Regions from separate parts of the Homo sapiens genome. Here region 2 is linked to region 1. Evidence: promoter capture Hi-C in 16 types of primary human blood cells and fetal thymus (Javierre and others, 2016). All regions are on one chromosome and are shown on one strand. The core of a region is centred on a gene start or on the middle of the fragment in contact, and the rest is flanking DNA. Distances in the headings are between cores, read along the strand shown.

What was found. Contacts are between HindIII fragments. The CHiCAGO score rates a contact against its expected background, and 5 or more counts as called.
Region 2: a contact is called between a fragment that was not itself captured here and the fragment with the promoter of PCCA in region 1, in 1 of 17 cell types (M0 macrophages). The highest score is 6.9, in M0 macrophages.

Annotation. Positions count from the first base shown.
Region 1 is chr13:100,083,144-100,090,568 of GRCh38, reverse strand. It overlaps PCCA (propionyl-CoA carboxylase subunit alpha), which reads right to left and starts at 1,476. Exons shown (of 24, transcript NM_000282.4): 1 at 1,344-1,476. The coding sequence starts at 1,448. PCCA-DT (PCCA divergent transcript) reads left to right here and starts at 1,626. Exons shown (of 2, transcript NR_132422.1): 1 at 1,626-1,936; 2 at 3,842-4,538. RefSeq lists a silencer at 1,147-1,326 and enhancers at 1,607-1,866, 1,897-1,946. The HindIII fragment of the contact is 8,226 bases long and covers 1,001-7,425 here.
Region 2 is chr13:100,229,451-100,236,246 of GRCh38, reverse strand. PCCA (propionyl-CoA carboxylase subunit alpha) reads right to left here. Exons shown (of 24, transcript NM_000282.4): 8 at 369-405. Among named protein-coding and RNA genes, the nearest start is that of PCCA, 140 kb to the right of the region's middle. The HindIII fragment of the contact is 1,762 bases long and covers 2,424-4,185 here.

The DNA.
Region 1 (7,425 bases), core at 227-2,726:
GGAAGACAGGAGATATTCAGTAAATATTTGTTGAAAAAAATAGCTACAAGGACGAAGCTGACGCCCAAGGAAGAGACCTGTCCAATATACAAAGCCTCATGCGCCTGACCCCAAAGCCCACACTTTACACCATACTAACTTGCCTCCTATGTAAATGCATAAGTCTTACAGCTGCAATTGAAGTGGCCAACACAGATGAACAGAATGATAAAGATTAAAGAACACTAAACTGTATGGGAACACAGAAAACAGTGAAAGTCCGCACGCTGAATTGGACACAAAACAAACATAGGTGCCACTCACTTCCATGTCGATAAGCTCCAGCTCTCATACTGCCCACCTGGGGCTCGGTTCCCTCCTCTTTAAAGAGTAGGATGGGGCAGGTCGTCTCTAAAGTGTCTTCAACGTCTAAAATTAAATGACTATAAATCAAGTTATGTGGCAATGTTTTAATAATTATTTTTTAAAAGGAAGTTTAACAAGCACACTGAACCAGCTGACAGATGGTTTTCAGGGGACCTTCATTTTAAAGAATGTGTTCAAGTGCCTCAACAAACCTTATAAAGTAGGTTAGGTGGTCTGTGCCCCAGAATTAACGACAGACTCGACATTGACTGGAGACAGAGCTCAGAAGCACACACAAGCACTCCAACCTGTTTGTCAATCTGCCATCATGACAGCCTAGGTATACAGAACAGTCATGAAATGTGTTTAGAACAGTGCCAAAATCAGGCTCACCACTATACCGAAAAGGAAAGTAAGTTCACGGGATGCATTTGGTACACAGTAGACTGGGGTGTCATACAATTAAAACAGGCTTTCAAATGAAACGTAAAATCTATTGGCAGTCCTGACATGGTATAATACTTTAAAAGATAAGACAAACTCACAACCCTAACACTACTTAAGCAACAGTTCACAGTGTCCCTTCAAAAATGCTGGAAAGAGGCAACAGAACACGGAAACTATAAGGACACCTAAAAAGACACCCTGGAAAGCTTAAGACAAAGCCAATGCCGCGGGGCCCTGGAAGCAGACCTCGAGCAATATGCCTGCCCAAAGCCATCAGCCGCCTCGGAGGGCGTGCGGGCACCCAACTGCCTCTGCCCTAGGCCTCTCTGCTCCGCAGGATCCCCGCGAGGAACAGCTGCAACGAGGGATGCCTCCTGAGCCCGCTGCCACGCGAACTCCGGGAGGGAGGAAAGCAAGCGGTGTAGCTGATGCGGAACCGGGGCGCGGGGGCAGCCGGACCCAGCCAGCGCTCTCCCGGCGCCAGCCGCCCAGAGGCGGCACGGCTAGAAGCCCAGTGAAGCCCGGACCCGCGAGGCCCCGTTGCTCCTCACCTTCAGGGTCCGCAGCGCCGCGCTCAGCATCAGCTGCTGCGGCGGCCACCGCCCACGCCGTCCGGCAGCGACCAGCGGTGCTGTCCCGACCCAGAACCCCGCCATTGTTGTCCCCGCAGACCGCCCCTCTGCTGACCTCTCACACAGCCGGAGGGGGTGGAGAAGGGGAGCGCAGGAGCTCCGGCAAATCACGAGCCAGAAACCCGATGCCCCGCCCCCTAACTTGCGGAAAGGGGAGGGTGAGTGGTCGGCCAGATCCGCCGGATCCGGGATCCGGGAGTCGCGCTAGGACCTGGAGGGCTAGTCGGCGGGCTGCGCGTCCGGCCGCTAGCTGAGCTGGAGGCCACCGGCCAGAGCCGACCCCAGGAGTGAGAGAGACAGGGGCGTGCGTGAGTTCCGGCGGCCTGCACCGGGCAAACCCCGTACCTTCCCAGCATCGGCTCAGCAACCCACGTGCATCCAGGCCGGTCAATGTCATTGAGTCACCTCCGCGCCTTGGCCACCCTGGAGTCCCGAGAATCCGAAGTTCCAGACAAATGCCCAAACTACATTCCTGCATGTTCGAAAGCGTAAATTGCAAAGCACAAATCCAGGTAAGGTTTTTAACGACTGTAATAACACATAAAAAGTTCTAGGTCTGGAAATCAGAGATCCGAGCTCAAGTCCTACCTCTGGCACTTAATATGTGTGTGTGAAAGAAATTAGCCACAACTAGAGTCAGTCTTTGTTGCTCGCAAGCAGAAACCCTTGTTAGTACAACTACTGGCCAGGCGCAGTGGCTCACGCCTGTAATCCCAGCACTCTGGGAGGCCGAGGCGGGAGGATAACCTGAGGTCAGGAGTTGGAGACCAGCCTGGACAACATGCCGAAACCCCGTCTCTACTAAAAAATACAAAAATTAGCTGGGCGTGGTGGCGCACTCCTGTAATCCCAGTTACTCGGGAGGAGGCTGAGGCAGGAGAATTGCTTGAACCCTGGAGGTGGAGGTTGCAGTGAGCCGGATCATGCCACTACACTCCAGCCTGGGTGACAGAGCAAACTCCGTTTCGAAAAATAAAATAAAAATTAGTACAACTATTAAGGGCCGGGCCGTGTGCTAGAGCCTCAGATTCCCTCTTACTTGAGAGTTTACAAGAACCTTAATGGAGTATATATTATTTCCATTTGGAGAAACTGAAGCTGTAGCAGGGTAAAGTCACTCAGCGAGTAAAAGGTCAAACTAGGGTTTGAACCCAAATCTGGCTGCCTTGAGGGACTGGGCTCATGTTTTGCTATATTATGGAAATTTTAAAATATATACAAAAGAGATAAAATTGTACTATGATCACCCAGATACCCATTACACCGCGTCAATGAATCAACATTTTGTCAATCTTGTTTCATCTATTCCCCTTTTTATTTTGTGCAGGAATATTTTAAAGCAAATCTAAGACATCAGACCACCTCACCTATAAACACATCAGTATTGGGGGTTCTCCTCTTAACTACTTTGCATCTCCTGCAGAGTCACCTTGAGAGAGTTACAAAGCTAGGAATGGCCTAGAGTACACTACAGCATGGTAAATGCCCAAAGAGAGAGAAATAAAATGGGGATATCAGAAAGGTGACATTTAATGGAATTTTAGAATGTAAGTAGGGACTTTTGTGACAAAATGAAAAGGATTATCAATTTTACAGGACTTCTCACTTATGTACCTCAGTCTTCATTCATTTTCTACCTGGGAAACTTGCTTTTCTTTTTTCTTTTGTTTTTTGTCTTTTCCCCATGTTTTACCCTTTGGATTAGTTTTCCTTAGGCCCTGTTTGTTTTTCTTATAGGAGTTCTTTTTATGAAAGGCACTTGTAGCAGAAACTGCTTCTCATGCTATCCATTCTCCATGCATTACTTTAGTAAGAGTGCCCCTGAGATCTAGCTGGGTACATGGCCACCCAGCGAAAGGCTGCAATAGCTAGCCTCCCTTACAACGAGGTGTAGCGCCATGACTAAGGTCTGGAATGTAAGGACTGTGCCCTCCATGCCCTCTTCTTTCTTACCTAAACAAAGATCTACATTTCCCAACTCCCACTGCAGCAAGGGTGCTTACCAAGATTTGGTTACTAAGTTTTGGCCAATGGGACATAAGCACAAGTGACATAGACAACTTTTGGGTTATACCTTTAAAGGGAAAGGCTTGCTTTCCACTTGCCCTTCTCCTCTTTCCAGTTTGCCAGAATGTGGACACTACAGTGGAGGTAAAGTTGTCATCTCAGATGATAAGAAGGAAGTTAGGTGATCGGGGAGACAAAACAATATACCAGGAGCCTTTAGTGCCTGATTCTGTGGAGCCGCCACGTCAACCCTGGAGTGCTTTGTTCAGATTTTTATGCAAGCAAGAAAAATACTGTATCTTGTTTAAGTTATTGCATTGTGTTTTTTTGTTTTGCCTTTGTTACAGCAGCTACATGTGTGTCCTTACTGATAGAGGACTAATATTTATCTTTGCCTTTTCCATTTGAAGTTGTAGATTGTGGCCGGGAGCAGTGGCTCACGCCTATAATCCCAGCACTTTGGGAGGCCGAGGCGGACAGATCACGAGGTCAGCACTTCGAGACCAGCATGGCCAACATGGTGAAGCCCCATCTCTACTAAAAATACAAACATTAGCCAGGCATGGTGGTAGGCCCCTGTAATCCCAGCTACTCGGTAGGCTGAGGCAGGAGAATCACTTGAACCCGGGAGGCAGAGGTTTCAGTGAGCTGAGACTGCACCATTGCACTCCAGCCTGGGCGACAGACCAAGACTCCATCTCAAAAAAAAAAAAAAAAAAGTTATAGATTGTAAGGAAAATACCCCCAAGGAAGTTGAGGACACAGCAGACTTGGACTGTCTCCAAACCTGTTCATTCTTCTGAGTGCACTGCTCGGAGCATCCTATTGGGCAGCATATCCTGGCCTCCTTTCCAGTTCGATGTGGTACTATACCTGATTTCTGGCCAATAAAATATGAGAGGACATGAAATTCAACAGCCCCTGGGCTTGGCTTATAAAACCTTCCATGCAATCCTCCACACCTTTTCACCTCTCAGCTGCTGAGACTTTTCTAGGCACTACACAGAAGCAGCCTGGGTCTCCAGTAGCAAAGGAGAGCAGATCCTTCTCACTATCCTGCACCGAACTGTGACATGAGCAAAAAATAAAGTTTTTATTTTCTTACACCATTGAGATTTGAGGATTGCTAGAGCAGTTAGTCTTCCCAGCCTAATACAGTATTAGTAGAGGACAATTAGGCCAGACACAGTAGCTTATGCCTATAATCACAGCAGTTTATAAGGCCGAGGTGGGCAGATCACCTGATGTCAGGAGTTTGAGACCAGCCTGGCCGACATGGTGAAACCCCAGCTCTACAAAAAATACGAAAATTAGCCAAACATGGTGGCACGTGCCTGTGATCCCAGCTACTCAGGAAGCTGAGGCAGGAAAATCTTCAAGCCAGGAGGCGGAGGTTGCAGTGAACCAAGATTGTACCAGTGCACTCCAGCCTGGGCAACAGAGTGAGACTCTGTCTCAAAAATAAATAAATAAACAACAAAAAACCTTTTTCAGAATAAAAACATACATTAACAATATCAAGAATGGCCAGGCACGGTGGCTCACACCTCTCACCCCAGCACTTTGAGAGTCCCAGGTGAGCAGATCACCTTAGGGCAGGAGTTTGAGACCAGCCTGGCCAACATGGGGAAACCCTGTCTCTACTAAAAATACAAAAATTAGTCCGGGCGCAGTGGCTCACGCCTGTAATCCCAGCACTTTGGGAGGCCGAGATGGGCGGATCACGAGGTCAGGAGATCGAGGCCATCCTGGCTAACACGGTGAAACCCCATCTCTACTAAAAATACAAAAAAATTAGCCAGGCATGATGGCGGGCACCTGTAATCCCAGCTACTCGGGAGGCTGAGGCAGGAGAATGGCGTGAACCCGGGAGGCGGAGCTTGCAGTGAGCCGAGATCGCGCTGCTGCACCCCAGCCTGGGTGACTGAGGGAGACTCTGTCTCAAAAAAAAAAAAAAGAAGGTAAAGTAGAGGTTCTTCTTCAAAGACTTTCCTCCCCATCTAATTAGGAATAAATAGTAACTTCTCTTAGAAGCAAAATTTATTCAAAGACCTGTGCTAACATTCTTAAATATCTGCTAGCTTTAATAAATCAATGTACTTTATGTTCCTAGCTCCCACAATTTAGCATAAATATTTGCCCTGGCATGCTTATACTAGTCCAAGCAAGCATTAGGTCATAGCCTGTTCCTCTTCCTTATTTGAAGATGTTTCAGTGGTGGGCTGAAGGGCTCCTCAAGTGCCGCCAAAGTGGGAGCCCAGGCAGAGGAGGTGCTGAGAGCGAGCGAGGGCTGTGAGGACTGCCAGCAGGCTGTCACCTCTCAATCCCCCCTCTAAACAGGACACCCCAACTGCTGTTGGGAATTTGGCCAATGACCGCTCTAGCTACTTCCTGCTGTATAGGGGCGATGATGGGGCCCTGCAGTTGTAGTGTCCTCCAGAGGGGAGGTCTCTAGGCCAGGGAAACTGCCAGCGGGTCAGTCCAGGGGTCCTCGGTAGAAGTTGTTAGTTGAACTGATTTGGGGGTCCATTTGTAAGACCATCTGTAGCTTGATGGCCTCGATTCTAGAGGAAACAAATTTGACAGGAAGGTTAAAAATACAGGGCCCAAAGGCGAGTAACAGCAAGATGGCTGCCACAGGACCTAGAAAGGGGAGAAGCCATGTTGCCCAACTCCAGAGGTTGGTATAAGAATTTGAAAGGCATCTGATTTCAGAAGCCTTTTCCTGTAAATACTAGGCGGCACCTCATACTATCCCCGACTGGTTAGTGTAAAAACAACACTCTTCCCCTAAGAAGGTGCAGAGTCCTCCTTTTTCAGCAGTGAGGAGGACTAGGCCTTGGCGGTTTTGGAGAGTCACTGCTGCCAAAGAGTCTATTTGGGATTATAAAGTAAGAATAGATTTCATTATTTCTTGCAGAATGTCTGAGAAATCCTTTGAGAGTGTGTGGTAGTAGGATAATGAAGTAGATAAACCGGCTATTCTGGTTCCTGTAGCAGTAGCCATTCCTAACCCTATAAGTAGGGGTATTAGTTGTATGGCTCTGCGCTGACTGACTTGAGCTTTGAGGGGTACTGATAAGGTCTAATTTCCTGGGGCAGTGTTAATGTTGGGACTTAGACTAAGGTGCAGATGCTTGTCCAGTTAGTGGGGAGGCAGATATAGGTCGATGTTCCACATAAGAAGAATATGCCTTGTCTGGGTAGAAAGAACTTTACCCTGGCTTTTAAAGGAATGGGATACACTGTTTTTTCTTTACTACTTCCATCTCTCTTTCTCGTTGACTTCTTTGTCTCTTCCTCTCTTTCTGACTCTGACTTTCTGTGTCTGTCCCTCTTTCTCTCTGACTCCTTCTCTTTGTCTCTCTGTTTCTGTCTCTCTGTCTCTCTTTCTGACTTTCTTTCTCTCTTTCATTCTTGCTGGTCTTTCCCTACCTCTGCCAGCCGCTTATGCTGCTGTTCTCCCCTCTCCTTCCCATTTTGATGGCTTTGTCAGTGTAAGACTGCCACCTCCTTGGGTTTTTCCGCTGCGTGCAATAACTCTATAATTTCCTCGTGGTATTTGATGGGGGTTCCCCCAGAGGTTAGGAACTCCCTCTCTTTCCGTATTGCAGCATGGGCATGTAGGATTAGATGAGCATACTTGCTATCTGTATACACATTTATTCTTTATCCCTTTCCCAGTTCTAAGGCTCAGGTAAGTGCCACTAGTTCCGCTAACTGGGCACTGGTCCCTGGGGGAAGAGGCTTGCTTTCAAGTGTGGTTACTTCACTAACTATGGCGTGACCTGCCCTTCGTATCCCATTCTCCACAAATGAACTTCCATCGGTATATAGGTTAAGGTCAGGATTAGTTAAGGGGACTTCTCAGTCCCCTTTTCTGGGAGACTTCTAAGTCTTAGAAGGACTTAGAAGGGGACTTCTAAGTCCACTTTTCTGGGAGAAAAGTGGAAGGGTTGGAGGCCACACACGTGCGTATTTGAAGCACCAGTCC
Region 2 (6,796 bases), core at 2,055-4,554, 140 kb before region 1:
CATATGGTATCTTCATTTTAATCCAAATGTTCTTAATTTTAACAAACCACATTCAACTATGTACATATAAATTGACATTAAACTTATATCCAATCTTTAGAATTCTTAAGACAATTCCTTCTTTGAATTAGCCTGTGATCTCATCTTACAAAAGAGTTATGTATAGTTAAGGTCAAATTACTCTTTACAGTCTCCTTTAATAATAGAATTTGGCAATTCAACTGATACATTCTTCCAGAGCAACAAGTAATCAAAATCTAAAACTATTAAAGTATTATTTGCTCTATGGGAATTACTTATTACCTGTTGACTCAACCGTATCTGCTGAAAGACACAGAAATCCTACCAAAGTTAATTTAAGGACTTACCAATTTCCCTTGCAATTCTGACAGCTTCTTCTGCATCCTGTAAAAGCAGGAAATGAGACTCAACATTAATCCCATGAGGCATTGCACAATGTCTTTAGGGCAGTCATATATTGCACTACTGTCTCCTCCGATTCATTTAATGTTCAATTTTACTACCTTCTAACCCTTTTCATTCAGAGAAATGTAAAATTAATACCATAAGTGGAATGTAAATTCTACCTCATCATTATTATATTAAGAAACTCAAAGCAGTTGAAATGAGCTGGCAGGAAGCACTACCAGAATTGCCAATGATTTGGTGCAGTTGCCGGAATTTAATGGCAGAATTTAGATGTTTACAATCAATACTGAATCATAAATCAGGTCATTAAAGCTTGTCCGCAGCCAGCTTGTTTCTGTCCAATATTATGTGTCATGTTTTCCTAGATTCTGTCAGCAGGGGGAGTTGATTCTCTATTGTTTGGGAGTAGTTGATCGATTTTGCAGAAATATGAAAGTTAATTTCCAGTACCTACAGGAATTACGAATTGTTCCAAAAAATCCTTTTGGTAATCTGCATTACCTTTTCTTTTCTATTGTTTCTTTCTTTTTTTTTTTTTTCAGGTACATATTTTATCTCTACAATTGTATCTTGTTACATAAATTAAAAAAAAACTTTAATTTCAACGAACCAACTACTGGAGGAAAAAACTCCAAAAAGCAAAAGAAAGAAAATACCTTCCTAAACAGTAAGGGGTAAAAGTTTATCCATTTAAGGATTAGTTATTGCTAAATATTAACCAATGCCACTTCTACCTCTAAGAAGATGAAAAGACAAAAACTTCCCTTGAATCTAAGTAATTTCACTGATCATTAACCCTCACCTAACACATCCAACACAGGACACTGCTGAATCATTTCCCCAAATAACAATAAAGATAATGTTGAAATCTAAGCCTCCTTCGTGTGTGTGGGTATGTGTGGGGTGTGTGTGTGTGTGTGTGTGTTTGTGTAATTCAGTGACACAAACTAAACTACCACAAAGACTGACAATATTGTTTTGAAACCACAGCTGGTAAGTGTGACTGAATTTTTAGAAAATGACTAAAATGCTGAAGTGAAGCCCAGTGTTTTTTAAGCTTTTAAGCTAATACGTTTAAAATGTAGAGCAACCATGTCAGAATCCTCCGAGAAGGGGGCGGGGGGGGATGTTTATAACTGGTTCACTTATGTCTAATAAAAAAAAATCTTCTTTAAAGTTCTTCAGTACCTAATAACATCCCCTGAATAAGGAGGTTGGCAGGGGAAGTTGTCAGAAAAATTTAATTTCCTTTCATTAGCCAGTCTGCTCCACAAATAGGTGCTTGTTAAGTTCAAAGGGGTCCTGAAAGCGACATCAGTTTTAAGTTGTTTTTTTTTTTTTTTACTCCAAGCAGTCACATCTGCTAATGAGATTTTCCAAATAACAATTGTTTTCAAGTCAGAGATAAATCTATATCTCCCACCCTATGCCTTCCAAAATCAAGGTTTACTGCTTTATTACACGTTGCTGTTTTCGCTGACCCTACATTCTCCAAACTTTAGCTTAAAGGGATGAAAATCCATGAAAAGGGTCATTTAAGAATGTTAGTGGTTTCCACACATTGAGTTGGAAGGTTCTTTGTTCCAGCCAGTGACAGTTATTGGAGAATACTTCCCCTTAATAGCCTCTCTGTCAGGAAGTGTTAAACCTGCCAAATGCGAACAATTAGTGCCTCTTGAACAAAATACAGGAAGAGTGATGGCTGATGAAGACTGGATTATAATAAACCTAGAAGAAAACTTTTAACATTTCTTTCCAACGTGATGAGAGAAAATAAACTGCTATTGTAAAAAGTTCATCACTTGAGAGAACTAACAGGCAAGTTTTAAAAGGTAATTCAAAAATTCATTAGACATATTTTGTCACTTATTTGAATATACATGTTATAGCTGGGTGTGTATGGATACATAAAGCCATATCTATATCTGACACAGCAAATTAAAAATTCCACTGCCACAAATCCAACACTTCTATAGCATGCCACAAAGCAAGCTTATCTTTCAACTTAACAGCATGCTAAGTCTTCTTACTATGAAAATTAGATTCTTCTAAATGAACTTTCAAATAAAATCAAGCTGCCTTAAAAATTAACTTTTCACTTGTCACTCATTCATCCAAAAATACTTTACTGAGGACCTATTATGCACTGGACATTAAAATCTCTATTACTGTTTCAATAATAAACTACTAAATATTATACACTCAGCCCCAATATGGTCTTTGAGAACATGAAGTTTTATTATCAGGCTCTACAAAATTACTTTTGAAGAGATAAAAAGCCCTATATAGCTCCAAATTCAATGGCACTAAGTGACATCACACTGTAAAGGTTGCCTATAACATCATAAGTTTAAAAAACTTTAATCAAACTCTGAATCAACTAAAAAAAGGACCAACAATCATCACAAAAGATTAAATTAAAAGCTCACAGAAAAACAGTTCCAGAAGCACAATATCTGTGCTCAGCCTTGCTCCTAATTACAGAAATACAAATTAAAACAATGAGATCTCACTTTTCCTCTAGCAAATTAAAATCTGATAATGGCCAGGATGACAAAGTTAAATACTTCTCATATTACTGGTGTCATAGAAAATGGGATAATCTTTTTAAAAAGAAATTGTCAGTATCTACCAAAAGTTTGAGGACACGTTATCTTTTGTTCTGAAATTTTACTCCTGGGAAGTCATCCTACAGATATACCCACATGAGTGAACACAGAGAGACATACAAAGAAATTCATTATTTTGAATTCGTTGGTGGTGTTTTAATAAGAAAAAAATTCTGAAAAACAATTTAGTAAGCCTTCAACAAAGGACTGGTACATCCATAAAATGAAATATTAGCCTTTAAAAAGAATGCAGTTGATCTATATGTTCTTATTCAACCACTTATACATTAATTCAATAACTATCTGCCCAGCAACACTACATGAAATACATCTTCTGCCTTCATGGAGCTTATTACAAACTAATGAGAGAAACAGAAAATAAACAAATCAATTGATAACTAAAATAAATGTTACATAGAAACAGAGTACTCAGGCAAGAATACTAGGGAGAACTTGTTTCAGACAGGCTGCTCAGAAAGGGCCCTTCTGGAGTAAAATTTTAAACCTAAGGATAAAGACATCTAGCCAGGCCAAGCACAGTGGCTCACACCTGTAATCCCAGCACTTTGGGAGGCCAAGATGGGAGGATCACTTGAGGGTAGGAGTTTGAGACTAGCCTGGGCAACATGGCAAGATCTCTATCTCTACAAAAAAATACAAAAATTACTGGGTGTGGTGGTGGGACCTGTAGTCCCAGCTACTTGGGAGGCTGAGGCAGGAGGATTGCATGAGCCCAGGAGGTCAGAGCTGCAGTGAGCCATGATGGCGCCACTGCACTCCTGCCTGGGAAATAAAGTGAGACTCCGTCTCTAAAACCACACACACACACACACACACACACACACACACACACACACGCATACACACACACACATAAACATAAACAGCTAGCTACCATGGAAAGATCAGGGAGAAAGAACATTAGACAGAGGGAACCACACATATAAAAATCCTAGATGAGGAAGCAATTTCATAGGGAAAGAATATCAGGCAGCTAAAGCTGAAACACAGTAAGGAAGTGGCAGCAAAGCACAAGATAAGGAGGTATGGACGGCGTGGCCCTGTTCTGGCCAGATCTTATGGGATTTGGTACACAGTCCAAGATGCCTTGGTTCTATACAAGGCAATGACAAATGACAATTAAGCTTTAAGAGAGTAACTCTTACACTGTAAAAATAAGCAAAATAAAGTATATACTGGGGGCGGGGGTAGCAAGTTGGAGTACATAGCGTATGACCTTACCTACATTAAGACAGAAATACACATTTGAACGCACAGGAAAGTTTAAGCATTAGACAGCTACAGAAACCAATTTACTGCTCAAAAGTAGGACAGACAGCCGGGCATGGTAACTCAGGCCTATAATCCCAGCTACTCAGGAGGCCCAGGCAGGAAGACCACTTGAGCCCAGGAGTTCTGTACTGACTTAAGCAACATCGCAAGACCTTGTCTATATTTAAGAATAAATAAATAAATAAATGTAAAAGGTAGGATTAAAAGTTGTAGGAAAAGGGAAATTAAAATTGTATGCTCTTAGGTACACGTTGAACTTTTTTACCATAAGAATCATAATTTCATACTTCATATTTTCATAGTTTAAAAATTAAATCAGCCATGCCTGAAGTTATCAAATTATTAATGATTTTGAGAATATTAAATGTTATCAAAACAAACTAGGAGTCCCCAAAATCACTTAAGCTTTTCATGACATCCCATTGCCTCAAAACCAAGTTTGAACTCCCTAGGCTGGTTTCAATACTTGATCCTGTCCGCCTAAGCATGAGTCTCAGCCCCACCCCTGTTCATCTTGCATCTTACCCTGCAGCCCAAGGCCCAGGCAGGCTCCCCAGCCTTGCACAGCCTTCTCAGTTCAGCCAGCCTCAGCCAGTAACTCTCTCCCCTTTTACCAAACCAGCTTTTATTACAATAGGCCCAATTCTGGGCCCTGAAGACACGGGACGGAACAAGAAAGACATCATCTTGGCCAACAGGTAATTTACAGGCTGGTGGAAAAGACAAACCTTAAATACAGCCACACAGCAGCTAAGGAATGATTATGTGGTGCATGTTATGTACAAGTTTTAAAGAGGGCATGTGACAACAGGGGATCTCTAATCCAAAAATAGATTCCTGAAAACTTTCTCAGGCGTGGTAACTGAAAAGACACCTTAGAAATAGAAGCGTAGTGAAAAACAGTGTCTGGGACCTGAAGAGAGAGGCGAGGGGAAGGCTGGGCCTCACAGCCACATGAGAGAAACTGAACTGTAGCCTCAGAGCAAGGAAATGAAGGGCTAGCTCTGGTTGCAGGCTGGAGAATTCTGGCATAGCATCTGCTTACTTATGATGTGCACTGTCCACCCTCTGCACCTCCCTAGCCCATTAAAATGTAAGCTCCATAAGGACAGAAACCCTTGTCCAGCTGGTTCAAGTTAGGTATTTCAAATCCCGAGCACACGCCTGGCACAGTTGTTATTCAACCAACAGTTGTTGGAAGAATAAATGAATGAATGAACAAACAAATGAACACTTTGAGAGGCAAGAGGGATCTGAAGAGTCAGGCTGGGAGGCAGTAGTCTGGGTGACAGGAAAATGACCATTTCCTCCCAGAGTCCAGGGTGGCATGCTTCCAGTTTCAGCTAATGCCACGTTCTTTCTTTTTTTTTTTTTTTGAGATGGGAGTCTGTCACTCAGGCTGGAGTGCAGTGGCACGACCTCGGCTCACTGCAACCTTTGCCTCCTGGGTTCAAGTAGTTCTCTTGCCTTAGCCTCCTGAGTAGCTGGGACTACAGGCAAACACCACCACACCCGGCTAATTTTTGTATTCTAAGTAGAGACAGGGTTTCACCATTTTTGGCCAGGCTGATCTCTAACTCCTGACCTCAGGTGATCCGCCCACCTCGGCTTCCCAAAGTGCTGGGATTACAGGCATGAGCCACCGCGCCCAGCCTGCCACTTTCTTTAGAGTGCCTTTCCAGTCCTCCCACACCTGGCTAGGTATCATTGCCACATGAACACATACACCACGCCCTGCAATTATGCAGCCCTTTTCACACTTAACCTTCATGAGGGCAACAACTAGCTGTCTTACTCTCTACTAAATCCCCAGAGTTTAGCAAATTAACGCAATCAACACATTATTTCTTCCATGAATAAACAACTATCCGCATCAGCTTCCATAAAAATTAGTCTGTTAGGATAAGACACAATCTCACAAATGCCAACAGAACTATTCATCTCCAGAGCAGCGGTTTTATAAGTGAGTTAACTGACATCCAAAGGCAGGGGTTCAGGGCAGGGACTCAGAACCAGACAGGCTTCTGTTAGAAATGCTTGTTCCCCAGTGCCGTAAAGAAACAGCACTGGAACATAAATTTAATTTCCTCAGCAAGGCCATGTTTACTTTCTGCAGAAAGGGTACATTCGCCAGCAGTTTTGCCACGAGAGTACATTGAACAAAGGAGACAGGGTCATTTATAACCTGAGGCGCCCACCCTACTGCTGTGTCCGGTTTCCATTGGCTGGAACAGGACCTCACATTTTGTATTTGTCCCAATTGGCTAACAACATAGAACTTTTTAAAAGAGGCAACGGCAGAGGAGAACAAAGGAAGGAGGAAGTAACTTGTGGAATACTGAGAAAGGTAAAAACACCTTCAAATAAGGAAGAGGAACAGGCTATGACTTAATGCTTGCTTGGACCAGTATAAGCATGCCAGGGCAAATATTTAGGCTAAATTGTGGGAGCTGAGAACATAAAGT